Linked DNA regions of Homo sapiens: region 2 is linked to region 1. The links are contacts of gene promoters, found by promoter capture Hi-C in blood cells and fetal thymus (Javierre and others, 2016). All regions are on one chromosome and are shown on one strand. Each heading gives the region's core, a stretch centred on a gene start or on the middle of the fragment in contact. The rest is flanking DNA. Distances are from core to core; before and after follow the strand shown.

Region 1 (2,639 bases), core at 42-2,541:
TTTTATTGAGGATTTTTGGTGGTGGATTCATTAATTTTTTGAAGGGTTTTTTGTGTCTCTATTTCCTTCAGTTCTGCTCTGATTTTAGTTATTTCTTGCCTTCTGCTAGCTTTTGAATGTGTTTGCTCTTGCTTTTCTAGTTCTTTTAATTGTGATGTTAGGGTGTCAATTTTGGATCTTTCCTGCTTTCTCTTGTGGGCATTTAGTGCTATAAATTTCCCTCTACACACTGCTTTGAATGTGTCCCAGAGATTCTGGTATGTTGTGTCTTTGTTCTCGTTGGTTTCAAAGAATATCTTTATGTCTGCCTTCATTTCGTTATGTACCCAGTAGTCATTCAGGAGCAGGTTGTTCAGTTTCCATGTAGTTGAGCGGTTTTGAGTGAGTTTCTTAGCAAGGCCTGCGGACCCTGCCCCGCCCCCTCGCCGGGCGCCTCCCACCTATTCTACACCTCTCGTGTCTCTTCACCCTGCCAGACTAGAGTCAAGCTCAACAGGGTCTTCTTTCCCTGCTGATTCCGCCAAGCCCATTCCCTTGGCTGTGGTTTCGCTGGATAGTAGGTAGGGACAGTGGGAATCTCGTTCATCCATTCATGTGCGTCACTAATTAGATGACAAGGCATTTGGCTACCTTAAGAGAGTCATAGTTACTCCCGCCGTTTACCCGTGCTTCATTGAATTTCTTCACTTTGACATTCAGAGCACTGGGCAGAAATCACATGGCATCAACACCCGCCGCGGGCCTTCGCGATTATTAACTCTTGTAAGCCTAATCTAGGTTACTGTATTCTACCTGATGATCATTCATACTGGCCATTTCCTTCCTCTGACCTACTTGGGCCACAGGTTTCTAAGCTCCACTTTTGGAGTAGACAAATGAAAGAAGGCTTCCAGCAACCATTTCACAGAGGAGTGAAGGCCTTTCACCAAGGACAGTTTTGCTGAGAATGCTGGGAATTTTTTTTTTCTTTTTTTTGAGACAAGGTCTCTGTCTGTTGCCTGGGCTGGAGTGCAGTGGCATGGTCAGCTCACTGTGACCTCAAACTTCTGTGTCCAAGGGATCCTCCTGCCTCAGCCTCCTGAGTAGCTGGAACTAGAGATACACACCACTACACCTGGCTAATTTTAATTTTTTTTGTGTGGAGATTGGGGGGTCTTACTTTTTTGCCCAGTCTCGTCTTAAACTCCTGTCTTCAAGCAATCCTCCCGCCTCAGCCCCGCAAAATGCTGGGATTATAGGCATGAGCCACTGCACCTGCTGAACACAGAAATTATGGCCCCTGTTCATTTGTTTTTCCCATGATCATTGCTGTTTCAGCCCCCCTCTGCCCTTCTTTTTCTTTCTTTCTTTCTTTTTTTTGAGACAGAATCTCACTCTGTCACCCAGGCTGGAGTGCAGTGGCAGCGATCTCAGCTCACTGCAACCTCTGCCTCCCAGGTTCAAGTGATTCTCCTGCTTCAGCCTCCCAAGTAGCTGGGACTACAGGCACACGCCACCATACCCAGCTAATTTTTGTATTTTTAGTAGAGAAGGGGTTTCATCATGTTGACCAGACTGGTCTTGAACTCCTGACCTCAAGTAATCCACCTGGCTCAGCCTCCCAAAGTGCTGGGATTACAGGTGTGAGCCACTGTGCCCGGCCCTCCCCTTCATTTTCTAAAAAAAAATGAAGCCCAAGCACTTGTCTTTAAAGATAATAAGGATCAGGAAACTGAGACACCTGCATTTTTTTCCTATAGTAGGTTTGGGAGCTTGGAGCCTAGAACTAGAGTGGGGAGTAGCAGCTTTAAGAAATAAGGGTAGGCCAGGTGTGGTGGCTCACGCCTGTAATCCCAACACTTTGGGAGGCTGAAGTAGGAAGATCACCTGAGGTCAGGAGTTCGAGACCAACCTGGCCAACATGGTGAAACCCCATCTCTACTAAAGATACAAAATTAGCCGGGCATGACGGTGGGCGCCTGTAATCCCAGCTACTTGGGAGGCTGAGGCAGGAGAATCACTTTAACCCGGGAGGCGGAGGTTGCAGTGAGCCGAGATCATGCCACTGCAGTTCAGCTTGTGTGACAGAGTGAGACTATCTCAAGAAAAGAAAAAAGAAAAAGAAAAAGAAATAAGGGTAGGCTGGGCACAATTGCTCATGCCAGTAATTCCAACACTATGGGAGTCTGAGGCAGGAGGATCACTTGAGGTCAAGAGTTGGAGACTAGCCTGGGCAACATAGCAAGATCTTGTCTCTACAAAAAAATTTAAAAAGAAAATTACCTGGCGTGGTGGCACGTGCCTGTAATCCCCACTCCTCAGGAGGCTGAGGCAGGAAGATCACTTGCGCCCAGGAGTTTGAGGCTTCAGTGAGTTATGATCGTGCCACTGCACTCCAGCCTGGGTGGCAGAGTAAGACCCTGTTTTAAAGAAAAAAAAAGAAAGAAAGAAGTGTAGAATCAGGGGGAGGCCCCATGACCTGAGGAGAGATGAAGGATTATAGGGCAAGTGGGTGAGACATGCCTTCCGCAGTTTCAACATTGACCACAGTTTCAACATTGGAAGACCTGTGTGGTTCCCTACTCTGCCTTCATAAGTATATTTACATAGAGCAGGTCCTAGTCCTAGGATAAGCTTCATTTGTTCCTCTAGTTCCTTTG
Region 2 (2,639 bases), core at 83-2,582, 140 kb before region 1:
AAATGCTAATGTTAGACAGAAACGAAACTTAACATTAGCCAACCACAAGCAGCCAACTAACATACAATTAAGTAGCTGTGGACTTTTCAACAAAGGAAACCAAAAAAGGAGATTTTTTAACTGTAACCAATTTTATATATATATATGTATATATATATATATGTGTGTGTGTGTGTGTGTGTGTGTGTGTGTGTGTATATATATATATATTTTTTTTTTTTTTTTTTGAGAGGGAATCTTTGTTGCCCAGGCTGGAGTTCAGTGGTGCAATCTTAGCTCACTACAATCTCTGCCTCCCGGGTTCCAGCGATTCTCCTGCCTCAGCGTCCACAGTATCTGGGATTACAGGCACATGCCATCACACCCAGCTAATTTTTGTATTTTCAGTAGAGACGGGGTTTCACCATTTTGGTCAGGCTGGTCTCGAACTTCTGACCTCAAATGATCTGTCCGCTTTGGCCTCCCAAAGTGCTAGGATTACAGGCGTGAGCCACCATGCCTGTCCCCAACAAAATATCTTGCTTCCATATTCTCCCCATAAATATTTGCCTCTGATGCATTGTCATGGGAACACTCAACCTCTTTCCATCTGGTGTTCCCCGATTCAAGAATTGCCTGTTACTCAAGTATACTCTTAAAAAAGTTTTGTTGATCCTCAGACTTTACATTTTAACACCACCCTACCTCCTAGAGCGCCAGTTTTCTGATCTGTAAAATGGGTGTTGCGGATCTTTCACTCCCTAGGACTGTAGGGAATAGAAAGTCTCTGGTTGTCAATGTCAGTCAATGTCAATTCCTTCTGCCTCCCCCATTTCACTACTGGGAACTCCGAGGCCCAGAGAGGGGCATTAACTAATGTCAACTTTAATAACGGGATTCAAGCAATATGTTTAAGTAATTTATTTAAGCGTAAAAGAAAATATAGGAAGAGGCAAGTTGCCGTGGCTCAGGCCTGTAATCCCACCACTTTGGGAGGCTGAGGTGGGAGGATCACTTGAGCCCAGGAGGTTGAGGTTGCAGTGAGCCTGATCCGCCACTGCACTTCAGCCTGAGCGATAGAGTGAGACCCTGTCTCTGAAAAAAAAAAAAGAAAGAAAGAAAGAAAAGGAAGGAAATTAATCTATATCAAAAGGTCAGTCCTTAAGGGGTCTGCTCCATTTCTCGGTCTCCAAAGTCAGCCCTTCTCAGGGCCTAACAACTTTTAGAAGCCCCAAATAGACAGACTGTCCATTTCTTTCTGCACTTGGCCCAGTCTCACTGCAAGCCACGCCTGGCTCAGCCCCGTCCCGCCTTGAGCCTCGGTGTTCCCACCTAGGGGCGGGCAGCCAGGGGCACTTCCGCTGGCCCAAGTGATCTGCATGTGGCAGGGCTGCGCAGTGGAGCGGCCAGTGGGCAGGATGACGAGCCAGACCCCTCTGCCCCAGTCCCCCCGGCCCAGGCGGCCAACGGTAAGTGCGAGGCTAGCTGCGTCCCCGCGCCTCTGTCCTCCGCCTCTTCCCTCCGCCTCTTCCCTCCCTTCCAGTTTCTCCTGCCCGTCCCTCCCAGACGCCCGAGCCCCCTGCTTCTGGCGCGCTGTCCCCCTTCACCTCGGGCTGGTCGCTCTCTTCAATCTTTGCCGTCCCTCCTGCTGGGATCACTCTCCTTTCGCGCCTCGGTGTCCCTTTCTGGTTTGGCTCTGTCCAGCCTTTCCTCTTTGCCCTTTTGCTTCCTCCCTCTACATTGGGTCTTTAGTTCCTTTCCCTTGTCTCTTCCCCACCGGCTTGTCCTAGCCCACGACTCCTCCTCTGCCCCACCTTCTCCCTTGCTCCCGGTGGGAGAAGCCCATCCAACCAGCTCGGCCAGAGGATCTTTCCCTCACCTGCAGCCCTCTCCAGCCTGCCCCTGCCCCTTGGCTGGGTCTTCAGCCTGCCCCTGCCCTCTGGCTGGGTCCCAAATCCCTCTGCTTGCCTGCCTGGTCCCCAGCTTGGGTGAGGGGAGTTGGGGAGGAGGATGGGGAAAAGGCTGCGTGCACTCTGGGAGCAGAACATTCGGGTTCTCTCCTGCACTGAGAGTCATCCTGAAGACCTGGAGGAAGAGAAAGCAGATCCAGCAGCAGGGCAGCGTGGCTCTCTCTAATAGGGCCATGATCACGTCATTGTTGTTGGCTATTGACAAAGCCACATGCCTAGTGCCAGGACCACCCTAGGTGTTCCATAAATGCCTGAATGAATTACTGGGGAAGTGTAAGGCACTGTGCATGATGCCAGGTAGGGCAAGATTGGCCTTGAACAGAATACTAGATGCTCCTGTAAATCAGAGGATATTCCCCTCCCTTAGGAGCCTCACAGAGTTTTTGTTTGTTTGTTTGTTTGTTAAAATAGAGATGGGGTCTCGCCATGTTGGTGAGACCCAGGCTGGTCTCAAACTCTTAGGCTCAGGCAATCCTCCTACCTCAGCCTCCCAAAGTGCTGGGATTACAGGCATGAAACACAGCACTTGGCCAGGAACCTCACAGTCAATGAAGAAACAGGGAATTGCAAGGGAAGAACTGCCAGGCCAGTGGAAGTATAGTAGTGTAGGACTTTCTGGGATCACAGTGAGACAACCCACCCCGAAGGACTCCCAGAGGAATTCATCTGAAGGATGAGTGGGGTCAGAGA

What was found. Contacts are between HindIII fragments. The CHiCAGO score rates a contact against its expected background, and 5 or more counts as called.
Region 2: the fragment with the promoter of KCTD14 here is called in contact with a fragment that was not itself captured in region 1 in 7 of 17 cell types (total B cells, fetal thymus, naive CD8 T cells and 4 more); the score reaches 9.0 in total B cells.

Annotation. Positions count from the first base shown.
Region 1 is chr11:77,884,540-77,887,178 of GRCh38, reverse strand. All of the region lies in intron 21 of INTS4 (integrator complex subunit 4), which reads left to right. It also overlaps a transcript of AAMDC not described here. Among named protein-coding and RNA genes, the nearest start is that of AAMDC, 65 kb to the right of the region's middle. The HindIII fragment of the contact is 2,648 bases long and covers 1-2,615 here.
Region 2 is chr11:78,021,969-78,024,607 of GRCh38, reverse strand. KCTD14 (potassium channel tetramerization domain containing 14) reads left to right here and starts at 1,332. Exons shown (of 2, transcript NM_023930.4): 1 at 1,332-1,448. The coding sequence starts at 1,359. All of the region lies in intron 2 of NDUFC2-KCTD14 (NDUFC2-KCTD14 readthrough), which reads left to right. LOC124902723 (a long non-coding RNA gene) reads right to left here and starts at 2,065. Exons shown (of 2, transcript XR_007062795.1): 1 at 1,587-2,065; 2 at 886-1,074. RefSeq lists enhancers at 838-1,405, 1,406-1,975, 1,976-2,543. The HindIII fragment of the contact is 5,224 bases long and covers 1-2,639 here.